3 separate regions of the Homo sapiens genome follow, and regions 2 and 3 are each linked to region 1. The links are contacts of gene promoters, found by promoter capture Hi-C in blood cells and fetal thymus (Javierre and others, 2016). All regions are on one chromosome and are shown on one strand. Each heading gives the region's core, a stretch centred on a gene start or on the middle of the fragment in contact. The rest is flanking DNA. Distances are from core to core; before and after follow the strand shown. Region 1 holds the start of RAB2B (RAB2B, member RAS oncogene family). Region 2 has its middle 10 kb from the start of LINC00641. Region 3 overlaps HNRNPC (heterogeneous nuclear ribonucleoprotein C).

Region 1 (3,723 bases), core at 410-2,909:
TTTTGGAAATATTTCCTGACACTTTCTCAGTCACTCTTTAGTCTCTACTTAAAACAATATTTATTTTTTTGCAATTCCAGATGTTTTTCTTTAAGAAAAGAGCCTAAGAAATAGGTTCTCAGAAACAATACTTTTTTTTTTTTTTTTTTGAGATGGAGTCTCGCTCCGTCACCCAGGCTGGAGTGCAGTGGTGCGATCTCAGCTCACTGCAGCCTCCACCTCCTGAGTTCAAGTGATTCTCCTGCCTCAGCCTCCCAAGTAAGTACCTTACAGGCACACGCCACAACGCCCACCTAATTTTTTTAACAATACATTTTACATTTCCAATAATTGCCAGAGGCACAATTAAGCATTGTTGCCTTGTTAAGCATTGTATCATTAGCCCCTATCGCAAAGTGAGAATTCGCTCAATATTCCCTTTAAAATACCTTTTAGTTGATACTGCCAAATCCTTTTCTAACCCCATCAATTATTTGACTCTAAATAAATCCGTTAGGAACAGTGGTAGCTTCAGGTTTCCATACAGGTGGGACTTGGAAGTAGCAATATGGTAAGAATGGGGATGTAGGGGTTTATTTAGAAACTGCATTTGCATGGCAAGAAAGCTAGTTTCATATATGTTGTTTATTTGGACTGGGGTTACGGAGATAACGAAGAGGGGGTAGTTAAAAGCCTCTTCAGGCCATGCCTTATCACAAACGTGTGGGAAAGGTTAATATTTTCCAGGATCGCCAGTGCGTTTGAGGAACTGTTAACACACTCTTTCATTTAAAAGGAAAGTTTTTAGTTTTATTTGCCTATTAATTCTAAGGCAGGGATGACTCCTCAATTTGCTTCTTCACCAATATAAAAAATGTCCATGTATTGGTGTTTACTTTTTAAAAGTAAGGCTGGTATTAATTTACCTCAAAGCACAGATGAGTTCATAAATAAGCAGTTATGCTTTCGTGGGATTTTCCATAAACATACAAATTGTATTTGAAAAAAAATTATATGACGAGTCTATACCTCACACTCTAAAAAGTTACCTTTCAATTATATACTCTCCCTTACACTACTCCCCACATATCAACGTTTCATTGGTCACTTCATTAACATAAGTTTGGACTAGTTTAAAGTAGTGAGGGGTAACTTTTTACTTCGAACACTGAAGGCTGCTAACTTTCCACTTTAGCAATTTAGCTAGTCAGGTTTTATCATCTGTTCTGGAACAAGTAGATGCACTTACCTATTGTGAGGTCGTGGACAGGCTGGAACCGCTTATCTGTAAACTGCAGGAGGAGACATGACTTCCCCACACCTGAAAGAGAAAGCACACTCCCGGAATCACGCAGCCCTGGAACACCTTCCAGAGTATGGACTTCCCGGACCAGAGAAGGGGGGCTCCCGAGCCCCGCCCCCGGCCGCCCCGAACCGCCCCGCCCGTCTCGAATCGCCCAGCCCACAAAGTGAGCCCCGCCCCCGCCACCCAATTTGGGAGCTTCGAATGCCCGCCCGAGCCTTGAAGGCGAACCACCTGAGGGTTACCTGTGTCTCCGATGATGATATACTTGAAGAGATAAGCATAAGTCATGGTGTCGCGTCCTCTGGGTTCCGGGTCCGCCCGACTTCTATAGCCACTTACCTCCGACCTCTCTAGCCACTCAATCTACCGATCTTCTTCTTCTCCCCCTTCCCCCCGCTCCCCCGCCCCTCCGGCTCCTCTAGCCCAGATCACGTCTCTATTGCACTCCCCGGAATCATCCTTAGGTCGGGAGTACCCTACGCCACCTCCAGGGACGCTTCTAGCACTTCTACATGCCCTTATCCCTCCAAACTCCAGGGGGCGATAGCCCAGCGCCTGACTCTCTGCAGCCCCACGGCGCTCCTTCCAATCAGCAGAGAGAACACACGTCCTTGCGGAAGTGACGGCAGTTCCGAGTCCAGTGGGGGCGGTGGGAGCGATGAGGGTCTGAGACGGTGGGAGCGGTTGTGTGAAGATGGAGGTAGGAACCTGATAGCTAAGAAGGCTGGCGAGAGAACGCGGCCGACCGGGTTGAAGCAGGGACGGGAAGCCGGGCGGAGAGGCGACTGACGGGAGAGGAGAGAGAGCGGGGTTTGGGGAGTGTTGTCAGAATGTCAGGGTCAAAAGCCATCGCTCCAAGCTGACTCCCTGCTCCCCCTAACTTATCCCCGCGACTTTCTTTTGGTTTCCAGTTTCCCGGAGGAAATGACAATTACCTGACGATCACAGGGCCTTCGCACCCCTTCCTGTCAGGGGCCGAGGTGAGCCAGAGCTGCCGACGCCGCGGGGGTAGGGCCTGAGGCAGCGGTGGGGTAGGGTAGTGGGGAGGAGAGCACGGACTCCGGGGACGGGGGCTGGGAACCAAGGGCCGCAATTGGTGTTTAGAGAAAAGTGGCGGTTGCTTCTAGAGCCTGTGGGGACTATCTGGGGAAGTCTTGGGAAGTTGCTGTCATCAGAAAGCAAGGTATTGGAAAGAGATAACCTGTTTAAAGAGAAAAGGGATTCTGGATTAGAAGACAGAGTGGAATTGTCTCCTTTCTCTGGGGAGAAATAGCTACAGTAATCTTAGGGGATCGCAGTGGAAAGAAAATGTTTCAGCAGCTGAAGAAATTGGGGTTGAGGGGAGGAGCTTATTGGTTTTCTTTTGTTTTGAGACAGAGTCTCGCTTTATCGCCCAGGTTGAAGTGCAGTGGTGCGATCTCGGCTCACTGCAACCTCTGTCTCCTGGGTTCAAGCGATTCTCCTGCCTCAGCCTCCCGAGTAGCTGGGATTACAGGCGTGCGCCACCACGCTCGGCTAATTTTTGTATATTTAGTAGAGATGGCAGTTTCACCATATTGGCCAGGCTGGTTTCGAACTCCTGACCTCAGGTGATCCACCCACCTCGGCCTCCCGGAGTGCTGGGATTACAGGCCTGAGCCATTGCGCCCGGCCTAAATTTCCTACTTTGATAAAAAATTTGTGGTTACCTTTACCTACATGGTGTCAGCTTGTTTTGCTAATGTCAGGAGGAAAGGAAATAGCTGCTAGAGAATATAAAAGAGTTGAGTAGGACATGTGTTTCAATTTGCCAGTGACTCAGACGTTGGGCACATTACTTCATCTTTGTATGTCACAGTTTCCCCAGCTGTCAAACAGCTGTAATTATAGTTTCTTATGCTGTTTTAAAGTAGAAGTAAAGGTTATGATGAAACCCTGAAGTGTTCGTTAAAAAAGTTTGGTTGAAATATTGTCATAATATAGATATGTATCACTTGTTTGGGAGAGGCAAAAGAGAATGGTGGAACAGACAAAAATTTCTGTCTTTGAGAAACTGAAGTCTTGAACCATCTGCCATTTTTTGAGGACTTTTATATTTATTTTCAAAAGTGGTGTGGACCATTTGCATCAGTTTTTTTTACCAAGAATTGTCAGTGGCTGTTGCATGGGCTTATCCTATAATCCTAACGTTTTCATGGATGAAAATGGGGTTGACAAGGGCCAGTTGCTAGTTTAACTTTTTTTTTCTTTCTTTTTTTTTTTGAGACAGTCTCCCTGTAGCCCAGGCTGGAGTGCAGTAGCACGATCTTGGCTCACTGCAGCCTCCACCTCCTGGGCTCAAGTGATTCTCCTGCCTCAACCTCCCAAGTAGCTGGGAATACAGGTGTGCGCCACCACACCCAGCTAATTTTTTTTTTTTTTTTGAATTTTTGTAGAGACGGGGTTTCACCCTGTTACCC
Region 2 (3,723 bases), core at 553-3,052, 280 kb before region 1:
TCACTGCAGCTTTGTCCTCCCAGGCTTAATTGATCCTCCCACTTCAGCCTCATGAGTACCTGGTACTACAGGCATGTGCCATCATATCCAGCTAATTTTGTACAGGGTCTCACCATGTTGCCCAGGCTGGTCTTGAACTCCTGGGCTCAAGCGATCTGCTCACCTCGGCTTCTCTAAGTGCTGGGATTACAAGTGTGAGCCACTGCATCTGGCCAAGACATTTTCAAATAAAGGAAAATTAAGAACTTTTGCCAGCCAATCTATCCTTTAAAATGGCCGAAGGAAGCTTTCGAAACAGATGGAAAATGATAAAAGAAGGAATCTTTAAATAGCAGTAATGAGAAAAGAACAATGGAAAGGGTAAAAACATGGTTAACAACAACAAAAAAATTATCTTCTTGGTTTTTAAAAAGATTACATTTGACGGCAGTATTACAGGTAGTCAGGCATGAGTGGCACAGGAGAGGACTGACTCTCCCTGCACCCATTAGAAATGTCTGGTGATGGTTCGGCAGTTACCACATTGCCTCTCTAAAAATGATAATGTGGCAGGGCCAGGGAGAGGCCATTTCCTGATGGTCCACACCTGTTAATTGAATGCAGGTTCCAGGGAGAAGCAACTTCCTGGTCATGGATGTTAAGAGACAAAAATGGTGAAGTATGATTTTCTGGGGACGCACCACCAGAAAAAGGAAGAAAGCCTCAGATTGGGCATGCATATAACTCCCTAAACACACTGAACAGGCTCGGTTCCAAAGGGTAAGGAAAGCACTGGGCATGCGGAAAGCCCACCCTATGGGAAGAATCCTGGGAAAGAGGCAAACTTACGAAAGTCCTAGGATCATGGTTAAACGGCATTTGACCTTCTCTATTAAACTTCATGTGCCTGCTTTTTTTTTTTATTCCAAGCGCACCTTCCTTTCTTTCCTATTCTAAGGCCTTTTTAAATAAACTTCCATTCCTGCTCTGGAACTTGCCATGGACCCATACAGATAGGCTGCTGGTACCTTGGGGTAACTCAGATCTCTGCCACTGCTAACAGTAGAAGCAAAAATCATAAAATTATTTAATGAGGTTCTCTAATAGGTAGAGGAAATATTTAATACAATTGTATTATGAATGGGGAGGGTAAGGTATATAAATAAGGTAAATTTTCTACATTTCACTTGACATGGTAAAACAATAGTAGTATACTGTAATCCATTTTGTATGTATAAGGCAACACCTAGAGCAACCACTCAAAACAACTATAAAAAGAGATACCCTCAAAAACACTGTAAAATACTACCCACAGAGTGAAAATGCAATCCACAAAATGGGAAAAAATATTTGCAAGTCATATATCTCATAAAAAATTGCTATCCAGACTATATAAATAACTGCTACAATTCAACAACATTAAAACAAACAACCTGATTTTGAAATGGGCAAAGAACTTGAATTAACAAACATTGCACCAAAGAAGATATACAAATGGTCAATAAGCACATGAAAAGATGCTCAACATCATTAATAATTAGGTAAATGCAAATCAAAGCCACATTGAGATACCACTTCACACTCATTAGGATGCTATTATAAAACAAACAGTGCCGGACATGGTGGCTCACGCCTCTAATCCTAGCACTTTGGGAGGCCGAGGTGGGCAGATGACCTGAGGTCAGGAGTTCAAGACCAACCTGGGCAATGTAGGGAGACCCCATCTCTTAAAAAGAAAGAGAAAAGAAAAAAAAAAAAAAAAAAGGCTGGGCACGGTGGCTCATGCCTGTAATCCCAGCACTTTGGGAGGCTGAGGTGGGTGGATCACCTGAGGTCAGGAGTTCGAGACCAGCCTGGCCAACATGGTGAAACCCCATCTCTACTAAAAATACAAAAATTTGCTGGGCATGGTGGCGGGTGCCTGTAATCCCAGCTACTTGGGAGGCTGAGGCAGGTGAATCGCTTGAGCCCAGGAATCGAAGATTGCAGTGAGCCGAGATCATGCCACTGTACTCCAGTAAAAAGAGTGGTAGAAGAAACAGTAAAACCAGTAAAAGGGTTCAGTAAGGTTGCGGGATACAAGATCAACATATAAAAATGAATTATATTTCTTTTCTTTTTTTTTTTGAGACAGGTTCTTGCTTTGTTGCTCAGGCTGAAGTGCAGTTGTATGATCTCAGCTCACTACAACTTCTGCAACCCAAACTCAAAGGAGACTTTCACCTCAGCCTCCCAAGTAGATGGAACTGCAGGCATGTGCCACCACATCTGGCTAATTTTTGTATTCTTTGTAGAGACGGAGTTTCACAATGTTGCTCAGGCTGGTCTCAATGAATTATATTTCTATAGACCAGTAATAAACATGGAGAAGATGAAATTAAAACACAATATCATTTGCAATCATTAAAAAAATACTTAAATACTTAGGTGTAAATCTCACAAAACCTGTACAGGATCTGTATGCTCAAAACTACAAACCAATGATAAAATAAATCAAAGATCAAAATAAATGGAAGGACATACCATGTTCATGGATTGGAGGACTAAGCATGGCAAACATGTTCAATTCTCCCAAATTAATATACAGATCTAACATATTTCCTATTATAATGAAACCATCATTGCGAAATTATAACTAAGACAGTGAAAGAGATCTGACCTAACCTCCATCTTGCTTCTAACCTCTAAGCTGCTCTTGTTCATTCCTGACAGTAGGCCAAACTAAGTTTGGGAGGAACTTAATGTACAGTCTATAGTTTGAAACAAACATAATAACAGCCCTTTCCCAAAACAAACCCCCTTCTTGCCTGAGGACTAGACTGCCTTTGTAGGACCAACAAATTAGCCAAAAGATCAGAAATTATGGTTTAGGATTCACGCAGCTAGAGGCTACAAGATTCTGACCCTTCCCAAGTTGATCCAGTGGATAACAACACTATTATAAAACCTAAGATAAGTACTTGAAATATTTTGCAAATCCTGTACTCAGTGAATCAACTGATACCACCCAGATCAATAAACTGGCTCATTTGGTTTTGTGGCCCCTACCCAGGAACTGACTCAGCACAAGAGGATGGATAGCTTTGACTCCCTATTATTTCATCTCTGGCCAATCAGAACTCCCTGTCTGAACTCAGACTCACTTTCTCCCTACCCACCAAATTATCCTTAAAAACTTCAATCCCCAAATTCTCAGGGAGACTGATGAGTAATAAAACTCCAGTGTGAATTACTCTTTCTCTATTGCAATTCCCATCTTGATAAATCGGCTCCGTCTAGGCAGCGGGCAAGATGAACCTGTGGGGCTGTTTACAACCTAGTCAATATTTTTAGAAATAGACAAGCTTATTCTAAAATTCATATGGAGGCCAGGCACGGTGGCTCACGCCTGTAATCACCACACTTTGGGAGGCCGACGCGGGTGGATCACGAAGTCAGGAGAGCGAGCATCCTGGCAAACACAGTGAAACCCCGTCTCTACTAAAAATACACACACACACACACAAAAAGCCGGGCGTGGTGGCGGGCACCTGTGGTCCCAGCTACTTGGGAGGCTGAGGCAGGAGAATGGTGTGAATCCAGGAGGCAGAGCTTGCAGTGAGCCGAGACTGTGCCACTGCACTCCAGCCTGGGCGATGGAGTGAGACTCCGCCTCAAAAAAAATAAAATAAAATAGGCCAGTTGTGGTGGCTCACGCCTGTAATCCCAGCACTTTGGGAGGCTGAGGTGGGTGGATCACCTGGG
Region 3 (3,723 bases), core at 501-3,000, 260 kb before region 1:
AGCTGGGATTACATGCACGCACCACCATCCCCGGCAAATTTTTTGTATTTTCGGTAGAGATGGGGTTCCTCCATGTTGGACAGGCTGGTCTTGAACTCCTGACCTCAGCTGATCCACCCGCTGGGCCTCCCAAAGTGCTGGGATTACAGGCATGAGCCACCACACACCCAGCCTCTTCCATTATTTTGAATACACAAAGTCATGTGGCACAAAAATATTGTAACTGCATTAGCTTCCCTATCTCAAAACACAAGAGATACCAAAATCACAAAATGAAATAATACATACACTTTCCAGACTTGGAAGATCCCCGCTGTCCACTCTTAGAATTGAAGCCACTTTTGCCCCTTCGTGAAGTGTTTCCTGATACACGCTGACGTTTCGAGGGCACTACAGCCCGAGCAATAGGAGGAGGAGGAGGTACACGTGCTGGGTAACTGTACATCCTATTGGATAAGAGGAAAATGGAATTCATTCAAACCTAACATTAACTCAGCACAATTCAACAGACCTTATGATAAATAGTAAGTGAATATTGTCTCTAGTCGTTTCCTTTTATTAAATTTCATTAAGAAGGCCAGCAAAAACCTCCACAGTGGGGTTTAGAAATCTTATCCCATTATTTCTTTACCTAGGCACATAAAATAGTTGTAATACTGTAGCAACTTTTCCTCAGGAAAATAAAACATATATCAAATTATATGGTTGGCTGGCCTTTGGCACTGGATATAAATGATTCCTCTGTACTAGTGTCAGTATTAACAGGGCATTTATTATAATGAATAGCCTTTGGATCTTATTATTTTCAAATATACATTACAATAAACAATTCACATACGGTCAAATACTCTTTAAAATGTTCCAATTAAAAGGGTATATAAACAGTGGTATATGGCATTAGCGAAATCTCTGATTCTTTTCACCCACAGAAGCACACGAATTATTACAACTAGTGATATAAGGTTGAACCATATAAAATTTCAGATCTATAAAATCAGGGCAATTTCATGTAACTGAGGGAATCATAGCAAAATGTGTTGGCTGGGTATAAATACTACTGATAAAAAATACCTCATATAAAAACAGGTAGTATCATTTCTAACTAAATTTACGCTTAATTCCAACAGGGCAGAGACCACTGTCTATCTTGTTCACTACTCACCTATGTCTAAATTCACTGGCCAGTACACACTTAGCACTCAATAAACACTGGTTGCTCAACTAATTGCTGTTTCTATTAGAAATCTTAATTTCAAATGTCTTAAACTTAGTATCCCAGTGATTGATAAAGATACACCAAAGCAGTGGCTTGGTACACTTACATTTGTAAAGAGAAAATTCAAAACAGAACAAAATACTTCTTACATGGACATCAGTTCTAAACTTTCTACATTCCACATTGTCATTTCCATATAAGAACCTATGGCAACGTATGAAAAGGTCTTCAATTCTGCAAGCTTTTTAAAAATGCAACTAACTTAATGCAAAGGCCCAGGTACTCTATAAAAATACACCTACCAACTGTTCTAACTCCAAATATTTCTTAAAAAACAAATGTGATAGTCAAGAACTTTAAAAATATTATTAATCACCTTTGTCATGATTCTCCCTCTTATATATATACAATAGTGGCAAGTTATTCTGAGTTGTAATATCTCCAATCTTCCTGTAGTGAAAACATTTACAAGATCTCATTGCTAATTCTCTCCTCTGTTAACTTAAAAGTGTTTCCACACTATTTCAACAAAGCAATGTTTAATCTTGTCCCAGGAGTGGCTATGGACAGGAACATTTTCCTAAATTAAAAGAGCAAGGAAAGCTGAGATGGAAAGACAGGTTGAGCCCAGGAGGTGAGAGAACCATGACTGCACCACTGCACTCATGCGGAACAGAGCAACACTGTCTCAAAAAAAAAGAAAACAGAAAAAAGTTTGCATTTCCCCTAAGTATGGTTAATCTCTTAGTTTAATCCATTCATGGGAATTAATGCAAAGAAAAAGATACTGAGTAACTTTTTATTATCACTACTTTCCCATTTTGACATAAAGCTTTTGGTCTTTTTGACCAAAATCTTGCAAAGTATAATGATACAGAAACTATAAAATATCAGTGTTCAGAAACTCATATCCTTTGTGAGAGATGGTAACACTTGCACAAACACAAATTGCTTAACGACAATTTCTGGAGGTGAATCAAAATAAGTTATCCATATCCATGAGCATTAAACTGAGCTTAAGCCTCAGTCCAATGGAAATAAATATCTAATCTACCTCCTAAGCCACAAACCTTCACCGGCACCCGTATCTAAACCAATGAGCTAGCTAGCTAGTTCTGTACTATCACTGGAATTTCTTTTTAAAACCTACTATTTCGTCTGACCACAGCCAAAATAAAGCAAGTAATACAGTTTTGTTTTGAATCTATGTAACAGTCTCATGAACACAATTAGGAGTCAAATTCTCTACTTTTCTGAAGAAAAATATTTCAAAATATTTCAGCCAGTTAAGGCTTTTAGTTACACAGAATGCTGCTCAGGCAGAAATGGACTCTCATTCACATCTGAGGAAGTAGTCCTTGCCTCGAAAAATGTTGAGGACGGTAAGTGTGAAAATAGAAAAAAAACATACATAGTGTGACAACCTTTAAGTTAAAAGGGATATATATTAAGAAGCTCAGTATGACTACTTCAAGCACCAGCTAAAAATTAAGCGGAAATTCTCACTATGAGAAAGCTATACAATAGATGAGGCAACAATAGCTGATTACTTACTGATTAAGGCTAGGCTGTTTAAAATCTTTTACCAGGGGAACAAGGACTAAACCCTAGGAGAATTGTAACTGCACCCATAATCAAACTTGATGGTGTTGGTATAAAATCTAGTCAGATTAAGAAATTAAAACACTCTAGAGACATTAATCACCTGAACAGATTAAGACAAAATACACCAGCCAGGTGTGGAGGCTCATGCCTGTAATCCCAACATTTTGGGAGGCGGAGGCAGGTGGATCATGAGGTTACGAGTTGAGACCAGCCTGACCAACATGGGGAAACCCCGTGTATACTAAAAATACAAAAATTAGCCGGGCATGGTGGCACACGCCTGTAATTCCAGCTACTCAGGAGGGCTGAGGCAGAAGAATTGCTTGAATCTGGAAGGCAGAGGTTGCAGTGAGCTGAGATCATTCCACTGTACTCCAGCCTCAGTGACAGAGCAAGACTCCGTCTTAAAAAAAAAAAAAAGAAAGGAAGAAAGAAAGAAAAGGAAAAGAAAAAGAAAAAAAAAACAACAAAACACACCAGCTGGATGCAGTGGCACACCTGTAATCCCAGCTACGCAGGAGGCTGAGGCACGAGAGTTGCTTGAACCCAGGAAGGAAGTGGGGGTTGCAGACAGCCATTGCACTCCAGCCTGGGCGACAGAGTAAAAACTTTTGTCTCCTCCACCACCAAAAAAAAAAAAAAAAAAAAAGACAAAGAATGTCTACCCCAATTCCAAAGTAAAAGCATTACAAGACATGTACTAAGAAGAGGTTTTCAAAGGGAAGCTTCTTAAATGGAAATTCTGACCATAAGACATTAGCTGCAAACAGTGACATTTCCTGGGTCTCAAAAAACCTAGTAATACATGTCAACACTACACCAGAGTAGACGTTAATCTATTAATAATAAAGCTATCATTTGGTACATGGACCATTTAATGGACCACAGCTGATTCTCATCTT

What was found. The method cuts DNA at HindIII sites, captures the fragments that hold promoters and counts their contacts. A CHiCAGO score of 5 or more calls a contact.
Region 2: a fragment that was not itself captured here is called in contact with the fragment with the promoter of RAB2B in region 1 in 1 of 17 cell types (naive B cells); the score reaches 5.1 in naive B cells.
Region 3: a fragment that was not itself captured here is called in contact with the fragment with the promoter of RAB2B in region 1 in 3 of 17 cell types (monocytes, naive B cells and naive CD4 T cells); the score reaches 5.5 in monocytes.

The regions. Positions count from the first base shown.
Region 1 is chr14:21,475,300-21,479,022 of GRCh38, forward strand. RAB2B (RAB2B, member RAS oncogene family) reads right to left here and starts at 1,660. Exons shown (of 8, transcript NM_032846.4): 1 at 1,528-1,660; 2 at 1,229-1,300. The coding sequence starts at 1,573. It overlaps TOX4 (TOX high mobility group box family member 4), which reads left to right and starts at 1,896. Exons shown (of 9, transcript NM_014828.4): 1 at 1,896-1,985; 2 at 2,197-2,265. The coding sequence starts at 1,980. RefSeq lists enhancers at 1,077-1,196, 1,777-1,846. The HindIII fragment of the contact is 9,465 bases long and covers 1-3,723 here.
Region 2 is chr14:21,194,961-21,198,683 of GRCh38, forward strand. No RefSeq gene overlaps it. Among named protein-coding and RNA genes, the nearest start is that of LINC00641, 10 kb to the right of the region's middle. The HindIII fragment of the contact is 3,037 bases long and covers 285-3,321 here.
Region 3 is chr14:21,212,672-21,216,394 of GRCh38, forward strand. It overlaps HNRNPC (heterogeneous nuclear ribonucleoprotein C), which reads right to left. Exons shown (of 9, transcript NM_004500.4): 6 at 289-446. Among named protein-coding and RNA genes, the nearest start is that of LINC00641, 7.6 kb to the left of the region's middle. The HindIII fragment of the contact is 591 bases long and covers 1,456-2,046 here.